Regions from separate parts of the Homo sapiens genome. Here region 1 is linked to region 2. Evidence: promoter capture Hi-C in human tissues and cell types (Jung and others, 2019). All regions are on one chromosome and are shown on one strand. The core of a region is centred on a gene start or on the middle of the fragment in contact, and the rest is flanking DNA. Distances in the headings are between cores, read along the strand shown. Region 1 has its middle 35 kb from the start of TMED3. Region 2 holds the start of FAH (fumarylacetoacetate hydrolase).

Region 1 (6,696 bases), core at 1,921-4,420, 810 kb before region 2:
GATTGGGTAGTAAGGAAGGTCTCATCGATGAGATTTTGTTTGAGCAGGGGACATTTCAGCTAGGAGAAAGAGCAATTGCAAAGGTCTGGAGATGGAAATATAAGGGTTTGTTTGAGGAACAGCATGGAGATAAGAATTGGTGTGGCAGTGAGAAAGGGGTATAGTGGTTAAAAAGTGAAGTTCAAGGTACCCAGGAGCCAGCTCACAGAAAGCTTTCAGGCCATGATGGGACGGTGCATACAACCTCCATCACCAAGACACTCTGTCCATCACTACAGAGATCTCTTCCATGCCAGTCCTTTATACTCATACACACTGCCCTCCCTTCTACCACCCTTGGTGCCTGTTAACAACTAATCTGTTCTCCATCTGCGTACCTTTGTCACTTTGAAGATGTCACGTAGATGGAATCATGCAACATGTGGCCTGTTGAGATCATCTGTCTTCGCTCAGCATAATATATGCTCTTTCATTTTATTTCTGAGTAGTATTTTATGCTATGGATGTATCACATTTTATTTAGACATCCATACACTGAAAGATATTTGGGTTGTTTCTGATTTTCACTATTACAAATCGGGCTTCTATGAATCTTCAAATTTGTGTTGATTTATATTTCAAAGGGTCACTATGGCTGCTTTGTGGGTAGTAGACTGCAGGGGTAAGAGTGGATGCAGGGAGTGAGGAGCTACTGCCATAGTCCAGGCAGACATGACAATGGATTCAACCAACTGGAGAGGTGAAGGATGTGGGACAGGCTCTTGGGTTGAATATGAGGCACAAAAGAAAGAAAGGAGTCAATGACAACTTTGTGAATTTGAACTACCAGGTGAAAGGTAGTCTCATTTACTGAGATGAGCCTGACTGTGGGAAGGAGAGTTTGGGGATGGAGTTTTGGTGGAGGCAGATCTAGCACTCTGTTTTGGCCATGTTAAGTTGGAGATCGCTATTAGAGGTCCTGCAGAGATAGCAATTCAACAGCCATATGAGTCTGGAATTCAGAGTGTAGGTTGGGCTGGAGAGAAAACTTTGAGATTCCATAAATATGTAGATAGAAGGTGAAATAAAAACACTCGGCCTACGTAGTTCACCAAGTAAATAAAGACAGAAAAGCAGGTCTAGATCCCATGGGCCTCCAACTTATAGAAGTTGAGAAGAAGAGAAGGTCAAATAGAAAGTGAGAGGGAGCAGCTGGAAAGACAGAAGGAACCCCCCAGAGTGTGGTGGCCCACAAGGCACCAGAAGATGCCTTTTCAGGAGTGAGGAGTGAGCCTCGGTGTCAAATGCTGCTGCTGAGAGCTGGTGTTGGCGTCCTAGGATTGCTGTAACAAATGACCACAAACTGGGAAGCTTAAAACAACATAATTTTTTCCTCTCACAGCTTTGGAAACCATAATTCTAAAGTCAAGGTATTGGCAGGGTTGGCTCCTTCCAGATGCTCTGGGGAAGAGCTCATTCCATGTCTCTCTCCAGGATTCTGGTGGCCCCAGGCTAGGATACATGACTAGGTTCCATGACACACCACCAAACCCCCAACTCCATTTCACATGGTGGTTTCTTGGTCTCTCTCTCTTTTCTCTTATAAGGATTTGTCATTGGATTTAGGGTCCTCTAATGCAGGATGACATTATTTTGAGATCCTTACTTTAATTACATCTGCAGAAAACCCTTTTTCTTTTAAGGTCACATTCCCAGGTTCCAGGAAGACATGAATTTGGGGGAACCTCATTCAACCCAGAGGGCCAGCAAGAAGAGAACTGGTAACTGAACTTTGGATCTGGCAAGGTCGAGATCGTTGGTGACTTAACAAGAGTAATTTGTACGAAACATTGGAGGCAAAGACTTCACTGTAGTGAGCCCAGTGAGATGAGGCAGTGTGAAAGGGAGACAATGTTTTATAGGAGTTTAACTTTAAAGCTTTGCTGTGTTTGAGCAGTAGCCGGAAGGAGATGTGGAAGAGACTGTTTTTGTTTTATAATTTGAGAGACAGAGCAGCATATGGGAATTTAATGGAAATGCTCACAGAAAGAGAGAAAACAGGGGGACAATGAAAGACATATAAATATAGAGAGCTACCAATCAGGAAGAAGAGGACCACCAACTCAATAGAAAGACTGGGCCAAAGATCCAGACAGGGAAGAAAAATAGAAAGCTCTTTTTAAAAATTTATTTACTTTATTTTTTATTAACTTTTAAGTTCAGGGGTACATGTGCAGGTTTGTTACATAGGTACACTGGTGTCATGGGGGTTTGTTGTACAGATTATTTCATCACCCAGATATTAAGCCTAGTACCCATTAGTTATTTTTCCTGATCCTCTCCCTTCCCACCCTTCACCCTCTGATAGGCCATAGTGTGTTGTTCCCCTTTATGTGTCCATGTGTTCTCATCATTTAGCTCTCACTTATAAGTGAGAACATGCAGTATTTGGTTTTCTGTTTCTGCATTAGTTTGCTAAGGATAATGACCTCCAGCTCCATCCGTGTTCCTGCAAATGACATGATCTTGTTCTTTTTCTGGCTGCATAGTATTCCATGGTTTATATGTACCACATTTTCTTTATCCAGTCTATTATTGGTGGGCATTTAGGTTGTTGATTCCATGTCTTTGCTATTGTGAGTAGTGCTGCAATGAATATACACATACATGTGTCTTTATAACGAAACAATTTATATTCCTTTGGGTATATGCCCAGTAGTGGGATTGCTGGGTCAAATAATATTTCTGCTTATAGGTCTTTGAGGAATCATCACACTGTCTTCCACAATGGTTGAACTAATTTACATTCCCACCACCAGTGTATAAGCATTCCTTTTTCTCCACAACCTCACTAGCATCTGTTATTTTTTCCCTTTTACTAATAGCCATTCTGACTGGTGTAAGATGACATCTTCTCATGGTTTTGATTTGCATTTCTGTAATCATCAGTGATGTTGAGCTCTTTTTTATAAGATTGTTGGCCACGTGTATGCCTTCTTTTGAAAAGTATCTGTTTATGTCATTTTCCCGCTTCTTAATGGAGTTGTTTGTATTTTTTCTTGTAAATTTGTTTAAGTTCTTTATAGATGCTGGAGTTAGACCTTTGTCAGATGCATAGTTTGCAAAAATTTTCTCCCATTCTGTAGGTTGGCTCTTCACTCTGTTGATAGTTTCCTCTGCTGTGCAGAAGCTCTTTAGTTTAATTAGATCCCATTTGTCAGTTTTTGCTTTTGTTACAATTGCTTTTGGTGTCTTTGTCATGAAGTTTTGCCTGTTCCTATGTCCAGAATGGTATTGCCTAGGTTGTCTTATAGGGTTTTGATATGGTTAGACTTTGTGTCCCCACCCAAATCTCATTTTAAATTGTAGATCCCATAATTCCCATGTGTCGTGGGAGGGACCAGGTGGACATAATTGAATCATGGGGGCTATTCCCACCATCCTGTTCTCATGATAGTGAATAAGTCTCACAAGATCTGATGGTTTTATAAAGGGCAGTACCCCTGCACATGCTCTCTTACCTGCCACCATATATATGTGCCTTTGCTCCTCTTTCACCTTCCACCATGATTGTGAGGCCTCCTGAGCCATGGGAACTGTGAGTTCATTAAACCTCTTTTTCTTTATAAATTACCCAGTCTTGAGTACATCCTTATTAGCAGCATGAGAACAAACTAATCAGGTTTTTATAGTTTTGGGTTTTCCATTTAAGTCTTTATTCCATCTTGAATTGATTTTTGTATATGGTGTAAGGAAGGGGTCCAGTTTCAATCTCCTGCCTATGGCTAGCGAATTCTCCCAGCACCATTTATTGAATGGGGAATCCTTTCCTCATTGCTTGTTTTTATCAGGTTTGTAGAAGACCTGATAGTTGTATGTGTGTGGCCTTACTTGAAACATCATCAATAATGAGCTCTGAAATTGAGCCAGTAATAAATAGCCTACTAACCAAAAAAGCCCAGGACCAGAAGTATTCCACAGCTGAATTCTACCAGATGTACAAAGACGATCTGGTAGCATTTCTGCTAAAACTACTCCAAAAATTTAAGGAGGAGGGACTCCTTCCTAATTCATTCTGAGGCCAACATCATCCTGATACCAAAACACGGCAGAGACACAACAGATAAAGAAAACTTCAGGTCAATTTCCTAGATGAACATCAGTGCAAAAATCCTCAACAAAATACTGGCAAACTGAATCCAGCAGCACATCAAAAAGCTTACCCACCATGATCAAGTAGGCTTTACCCCTAGGATGCAAGGTTTGTTCAACATATGCAAATCAATAAACATGATTCATTACATAAACAGAACTAAAGACAAAAAACCCACATGATTATCTCAAGAGATGCAGAAAAGGCTTTCAATAAAATTCAACACTGCTTCATGTTAAAAACTCTTAGTAAACTAGGTATTGAAGGAAAATACCTCAAAATAATAAGAGCCATCTATGACAAACCCACAGCCAACATTATACTTAATGGGCAGAAGATGGAAGGATTCTTTGTGAAAACTGGCACAAGACGAGGCTGCCCTCTGTCACCACTCCTATTCAACATTGTATTGGAAGTCACGGCCAGGGCAATCAGGCAAGGGAAAGAAATAAAGTGCATCCAAATAAGAAGGGAGGAAGTCAAACTATCCTTGTTTGCAGATGACATGATACTATATCTAAACATCCCCATAGTCTCACCTCAAAAGCCCCTTATACTAATAAAGAACTTCAGCGTAGTCTCAGCATACAAAATCAATGTGCAAAAATTACTAACATTCTTATACGCCAACAACAGTCAAGCTGAGAGGCAAATCCAGGAATGCAATCTCATTCACAGTTGCCACAAAAAGAATAAATACCTAGGAATACAGCTAGCCAGGGAGGTAAAAGATCTCTACAAGGATAACTACAAAACACTGCTCAAAGAAATCAGAGATGACACAGAAAAAGGGAAAAAACTCTTATACCCAAAAAAGCATATCATTTTGAAAGTTAACAAAAATAGCTGATTTTACCCAGATCAAAATGTTTGAAAAAACACTAGATTGTCCAAAGTGTGGAGAATGATGCCCAGTCATAGATTGCTTGTGGGAAATTAAGATGATAAGAGCTCTATAATAAAAATGAGACCTAACAATTATTAAGCACTTACCCTGTTGCCAGGCAATATTTTCAATAAGTTACATGCATTAAATCATTAACCCTCACTCTAACCCCTGAAGAGGGCACAGTGCCCTCTGAAGAAACTTGCCGGTTAAGTCACTTGCCTAACACAGATGACAGGTCACTTGTCACACAGATAGTGGCCTGCAGCACCCTTCAAAGGGCAAAATGGTGACACTTATCAATGTGAAAACATATATACTTTTTAAGCCAGCAATTCTAGGAATTTTTCTTATTGCTACATGTTCATGCTTGTCAAATATATGTATATAAATATAGTCACTACCCTGTTGTTTGCAATAGTAAAAAACCGAAAGTGAATTTACACATAAGAATGCTGATGGAAATGCTCATATAGGGAGACAAATCAATAGAAACCTCATTAGCAAACAATGGTATATTTCAACAATGAAATTTTAAGCAGCTATTACTAAAAATTAGATAGTGCTCTGTGTAATGGAAGAAATCAATCTCCAAAATACACTGTTAGGTGAAAAACAAGAGGTGCATACCATAATGTATGGAATTCTCCCTTTTGGGTAGAAAGTATACATGTACCCAGTAGTGTGATTGCTGAATCATACAGTAGTTCTGTTTTTAATTTTTTGAGGAACCTTTAAAATGGAACCTCTTTTCTATAATGGCTGCAGTAATTTACATTCCCAACAACAGGGTGTAAGGGTTCCTTTTTCTCCATATCCTCACAATACTTGTTGTGACTTGTGTTTTTGTTTTGTTTTGAGACAGGTTCTCACTCTGTCAGCCCAGCTGGAGTACAGTGGTGCTATCATGGCTTATTGAAGCCTAGAACTCCCAGGTGGGTGATCCTCCCACCTCGGGCCCTCCCCCACCCCCAGTAGATGGCACTACAGGTGCACACCACCATGCCCACTAGTTTTTTGATTTTTTGTAGAGACAGGGTCTCCCTATATTGCCCAGGGTGGTCTCGAACTCCTGGGCTCAAGTGATCCACCCACCTCTGCCTTCCAAAGTGCTGGGGTTACAGGTGTGAGCCACTGTGTCTGGCTTCATTTGTCTTTTTGATGATAGCCATTCTAACTGGAGTGAAGTGATACCTCATTATACTTTTGATTTATGTGTCCTCACGACAAAAATGATAACTGTGAGATAATACATTTGTTAATTAGTTAGATTTAATTATTCCACAATGCTTATATACTTCAAAACATCATATGGTGCATGATAAAAATGTAGAATGTTATCTGTCAACTTAATTTTTTTTTAAAGTATAAGATACTTTTTTATCATCTCTGGTAATGGAGATTGCATCTGGGAAGAGAAACTGGGTAGTTGGGAGACAGGCTGTGGGTGGAGATTTACATCTCATTCATGTCCCTCTTTTTCTTGTGAATTTTGAACCACCTGTGTGTTACATTATGCAGTAAAAAAACAAATAAAATTTAATTTAATTATCCTATTCGTCTCTCCCTAAAAACCTACCACTACTGCCATAACTGCAACCCTCCCTAGGCCTCTGTCATATTCAGAATGCTTCTTCTGGGCACACAAAAGGACATGCATGTATCACATGTTCTGATC
Region 2 (5,538 bases), core at 147-2,646:
TTTAAAAGTGTACCTGAATCATTCACACCAACAATAACACAACGACACACTCTCCGGTGTGTTCCAAGTGTCCTGGCTGTGGCATGGTCTCAAAAAACTGCAGCTGACTGCACATGAGTGATTAGATAACACCTTGAACCCACCCTAAGATAGTCTGCCTTTCCCTTCTTTCCTGTCTTCCTTCTTTTCTTTCTCCCTCTCTCTCTTCTCCTATTTCTCTTTTATCTTTCCTTTCCTTTATCCCCCTCCCCTCCTTTCCTCTTTTTCCCTCCCTTCTCTCTCTTTCCACACACACATAACCTGTATATGCCAGGCACTATTCTAGGTGCTTCACAAATATTAATTCATTCCATTCTTATATCAACTTTGTGAAGTAGGAACTATTATCATCAACATTATACAGAGAAGGAAGCTGAGGTAGAGAAAGTTTAAGTAACTTGTCCAAGGTTGAGCATCTTGTCAACGTCATTTTACTACTGGCATGTGAAACAGGTGAGTTATATTTTTTAGAATATTAATTCTCATTAATTGAAGCCTTCCAAACAGGCCTAACTGTCCCCTTCTCTGACATACAAGTGGAAGTGTCATAGCTGGACGGAGCATCATGGTATGAAGGCAGAAAGGACGCGACTGGGTGTTCTTCTGAAGCTCAGGGAGCAGCTCTTGGGGAGAAAGTGTTTCCAGGAAGCGGACAAGAGTTCTGTTGAGCTGAAGAGCAGGGCAGCAGCCGGGGCGAGCGAGGCTGGAGTCATGCAGGGCAGAGCCTTAAATGCTAAGCTGGGGTTTGCTCTCGGTAGGACCAGCTAGCTGCCCCGAGCGGGGGCTGGAACCAGATCTCCCCCACGTGGACTCGCGGACAGGGCGGGGATCAGGACGGGGGCGGGGCCAGGGGAGGGGCGGGGCTCGGGGAGTGAGGCAAGACTGGAGGGCCTGGGACTCTCGGGTACCCGGGCCAGGGGAGGGGCGGGGCTCAGGGAGGGAGGGAGAGACTGGATGACCTGGGGCTTGCAAGGCGGGGCGAGGGGAGGGGCGGGGCGAGGGGAGGGGCGGGGCTCAGGGAGGGAGGGTGAGACTGTGGAGGACCTGGGGCTCGCGGGGTCGGGGCAAGGGGAGGGGCGGGGCTCAGGGAGGGAGGAGAGACTGGAGGACCTGAGGCCCACGGGGGCGGGGCCAGGGGCGGGGCGGGGCTCTGGAAGGGCGGGCGAGACTGTGGAGGACCTGGAGCTGGCGGGGGTCAGGGTAGGGGGGAGGGGCAGGGCTCGGGGTTCGGGGGCGGGGTGTTCACGGTGAGACCAAAAGTCAGGTAGGAGCCTCCGGGGTCCCTGCTGTGTCACCCGGACAGGCCGTGGGGGCGGGCAGGGGGGCGGGGCCGGGCCTGACCACAGCGGCCGAGTTCAGTCCTGCTCTCCGCACGCCACCTTAGGCCCGCAGCCGTGCCGGGTGCTCTTCAGCATGTCCTTCATCCCGGTGGCCGAGGATTCCGACTTCCCCATCCACAACCTGCCCTACGGCGTCTTCTCGACCAGAGGCGACGTGAGCAGTGGGGCTTTGGCGTCCGGGCGCGGGGAGGGAGTGGAGTGGAGTGGAGTGGAGTGGAGTGGAGTGGAGTGGAATGGAGTGGAATGAGGGGCGGGATGGAGGCTTGTGCCATTTTTCTCTTAAGATTCGTTCCGTGAGAGTGCCTATGGGCTCGAGTCCCGCCTCGTAACTTTCTAGCTGTGCACGTTGTTTAACTTTTCAGCCTCATTGTCCGCAGGTTTGCTGAGAATTAAATGCAAAATGAAATGAATCGTGTCACTCTCCCAGACAAGCAGAGCAAGCAGGATTCTGTTACCGGAAGCTGCAGCACACAGGCATGCTGCCTACTCCGAGGTGGTTGCGGTGTGTTTCTCTCGCCCAAGAGGCCAGGTCAGGGCTGGTGGTTCATCTCGCTGGATAGCCCCTAACCCTAGAACCCGGGAAATGATAACCCGGTATGCGTAGCAGGTCAGAGGGGCACGCGCGTTTCTTGGCTTAGAGTTGTGAGATCTAAGATGGCAAGTGTCTCTGCCTATAGCTGAAATTCTTTCAGCTCCTGGTGTGGGCTCCCTGGCATTCCCCTACTGATCAGAAGAAAGAGGGCAGGGAAACAAACTTTGACTAAGTCAGTGTAGTCTGATTGGTAGAAAGAAGTATTTGAAAACTGGGGGTTTATCAGCAAATAGATAATAAGAGGTTCCCTAGGTTGGAAAAGCAGATTCCCTTGGATTTGTTGATGATATTTTTGGCTTAGATTTCTGCTCCCAACTTTAAAGGTAAACTCCTGATTCATCTCTGTAAGCCATAGAACCCCAGAATCAGGAAATGTTTGCTAAACGAGGGGCCTGGCAGTTGGCTTCTTCTTGGAAAGTGGGGTTCCCTCCTTCCCCCATGGCTTGTCATTGGATGCAAGTGGCTGGCCTTTTGTGGGCCTGTCTGCGGTAAGTGCTTTGGTCTAGAAGAGTCAACTTGTGGTTTCACATCTGGCCGGGCTGACCAGATGTTGCAAGGATACAGAAAGTGGACACTCAATCCCCTGGAGGACACAATCTGAGGCACATTAAATCTTAACTTGTGATGGCCAACAACCTTTCTGCAGACAGAGCCCTCCCTCTGCCCTCCTCAAACACTTTGCCCTCGGCAGATGTGTCCTCCCTCACCTTTCCTGGGAGCACAAATCCATTAGACAGAAACATTTGTGAGAGGCAGGCACACCCCAGTAGGGAGCTCTGACTTGCTTTCTCAGGGGAATCGAATTAATATCCGTTAGAGTGTGGCTAGGTGTTTTCAGACACCATGTCCCGCTGTTTCAACATCAGAATGTGCAGGGCAGCCACTACAGATGTCTGGAAGAGAGAGCCCCATTCCGCTGTCCTCTGATACAGTGCTGGGGGTGGAGAGTTGGCCCTTTGGCCTTCCAGCTGAACAAGCCTCTTCTGAAGCTTTCTCTGCAGGCATTGGACATTCCAACCGTGATGGCTGCCTTGCCAGGCAAGACTAGTTGCCAAGGCAAAACCTCCCTTCCCCCATGTCAGCAGTCAGCCTTTCCTAATTTGAGTGGAATAACAATGAATCCTGCCATCACTTTATTCATTTTTTTTTATTCAGCGAATGCTTATGAACCCCAACTCTGGTCCAGATTTTGCCTGGGCTCCGAGTTGGCATCAAAGACACAGGAGACGCCTTCCTTCCATTTCTGGTTGATGGACTAGTAAGGTGTACAGGGGTGCTCTCTGTGAAGGTAGGGGTGGTGGCCTCTGAGAACGGGGTTGTAGTAGTGTGGAGCTGGTTTTGCCGGGTGCCTTGTTAAAGTCCCCGTGGTCTGGCTGTGCTGCTGCCTCCTGGCCTCTGCTTTCTCCAGCCACATTGGCTGCCTTTGAGTCTCTGAGATGTGCTAAGAGCAGCTTCCTGCCTTCAGGCCTTAGCACATGTTGTTCCTTCTGCCTGGAATACTCGTCCTTCTGCTCTCTATATGCTTGGCCCCTTCTCACTCTTTGGGACTCAGCTTAAATGTCACCTCCTAAGCACCCTCTCTGAATGAGCTCCCCGCTGCGGCCCAGCCTTGGTTATCTCTCACCACACCCTGTGTTTCCTTTTGCTTCTGGAGAGAAGGAACCACGTCACTGTTCCCAGGGCCTCAGCAGCCTTTGTGTAATGCTGGTACTGAGAAGATGCTCTCTAAATCTTTGTGGCATGAATAGCGTCTACCCTGTGTCTGTTCTTGTGGTGAGAGATTTACAGATATTAATTAAATTCTCACAATAAACCTACTGTGAAGTTATTGTCCCCATTCTACAGATGAGGAAACTGAGGTCCAGAGAGGCAAAGCATCATGCTCCAGATCTCACAGCCAGTAAGAGGCAGATATGGGGTTGATCCCCACATCTGTCAGCCTCCCAATCTGTAAGGTCCAGCCCTACGGGGCTTAGCGGGTTTTCTCCCTGTGTGCGGAAACGAGAGATTGTAAGAAATAAAGACACAAGACAAAGAGATAAAGAGAGAACAGCTGGGCCCGGGGCACTGCTACCACTGAGACACAGAGACCGGTAGTGGCCCCGAATGGCTGGGCACACTGATATTTATTGCACACAAGACAAGGGGGGCAGGGTAGGGAGGGTGAGTCATCCAAGTGATTGATAAGGTCAAGCAAGTCATGTGATCATGGGACGGGGGCTCTTCCCTCTAAGGTAGCCGAAGCAGAGAGGGAAGGCAGCATAAGTCAGCATTTTCTTCTATGCACTTATAAGAAAGATCAAAGACTTTAAGACTTTCGCTATTTCTTCTACCGCTATCTACTACAAACTTCAAAGAGGAACCAGGAGTACAGGAGGAACATGAAAGTGGACAAGGAGCGTGACCATTGAAGCACAGCACCACAGGGAGGGGTTTAGGCCTCCAGATGACTGCGGGCAGGCCTGGATAATATCCAGCCTCCTACAGGAAGCTGGTGGAGCAGAGTGTTCCCTGACTCCTCCAAGGAAAGGGAGACTCCCTTTTGCGGTCTGCTAAGTAATGGGTGCCTTCCCAGGCACTGGCGTTACCGCTTGACCAAGGAGCGCTCAAGCGGCCCTTATGCGGGTGTGACAGGGCTCACCTCTTGCCTTCTAGGTCACTTCTCAGAATGTCCCTTCAGTACCTGACCCTATACCCACCGGTTATTCCTAGGTTATATTGTACTACAATAAAGAGTAATATTAAAAACTAATGATTAATAATGTTTATACTAATAATCGATAATTGTCCATGATCATCTGTATATCTAATTTGTATTACAACTGTATAGCAGTATAGCTACAGTTTATGCCTTCAGTCTCTTGCCTCGGCACCTGGGTAATCCTTCGCCCACACCAATCCCATGCTTCCCCCTCTATGTCAGGCTGGGAGTTGGGTAATGCTTTCCTTTGGACAACTTTATATCAGATATGACCAACTATTTTAAAACAAAGGCAATGCACATTCATTCTCTTGAAGTTAGACAAATGCGGTCTCCCTCCTTAGTTTGTTTCCCTCAAGTTGCAGATGGGAAACTGAGGCCCAGAGACTTGTCCAAGGTGATAAGATGGTGAATGAGGGAGCAGACTTGGAGCCCAGGAATCCTGGATCTGACCTGTGAGCCCCCTCTAGTTTTGTGCTGAAGAAAATAACTCCCAAGGTTGAAAGTAGAGGGACTCACTCTCTCAGACTTTTTCTGGGTCCTCAGGTCATAGTTTGAAGCACAAGTTTGAAGCTTCTAGGCTTTGTTTGCATTTGAGGCAGCAGGCAGCTGCACTTGTGACCCCATTTTGGAAGTTGCTTACTGGTGGTGACTCCTTCTTGCCTTCAGCTGGGGTGTGGGGACCAGGGTCAGAGATGTGGTCCAAGGGTCTGCCCTGCACATTCCCTGAATGGAAAGCCACTTGGATTCAGGTGGTTCAGCTCTTTGCCTAAAGCAGATTTGCCATTTTCAGGAGGGGAAGACTGAGGCCCAGGGAGTTGGCAGTGGGGCTGAGAATGAGTAACTAAGCTCTCCAGGCAGCCTCT

Evidence for each region. The method cuts DNA at HindIII sites, captures the fragments that hold promoters and counts their contacts. A contact is called where the count stands out against the background at its distance.
Region 1: a fragment that was not itself captured here is called in contact with the fragment with the promoter of FAH in region 2 in 2 of the 25 tissues and cell types used here (dorsolateral prefrontal cortex and lymphoblastoid cells).

Annotation. Positions count from the first base shown.
Region 1 is chr15:79,342,974-79,349,669 of GRCh38, forward strand. It overlaps a transcript of TMED3 not described here. Among named protein-coding and RNA genes, the nearest start is that of TMED3, 35 kb to the left of the region's middle. The HindIII fragment of the contact is 4,778 bases long and covers 782-5,559 here.
Region 2 is chr15:80,151,603-80,157,140 of GRCh38, forward strand. It overlaps FAH (fumarylacetoacetate hydrolase), which reads left to right and starts at 1,397. Exons shown (of 14, transcript NM_000137.4): 1 at 1,397-1,533. The coding sequence starts at 1,453. RefSeq lists a silencer at 826-1,385. The HindIII fragment of the contact is 10,148 bases long and covers 1-4,102 here.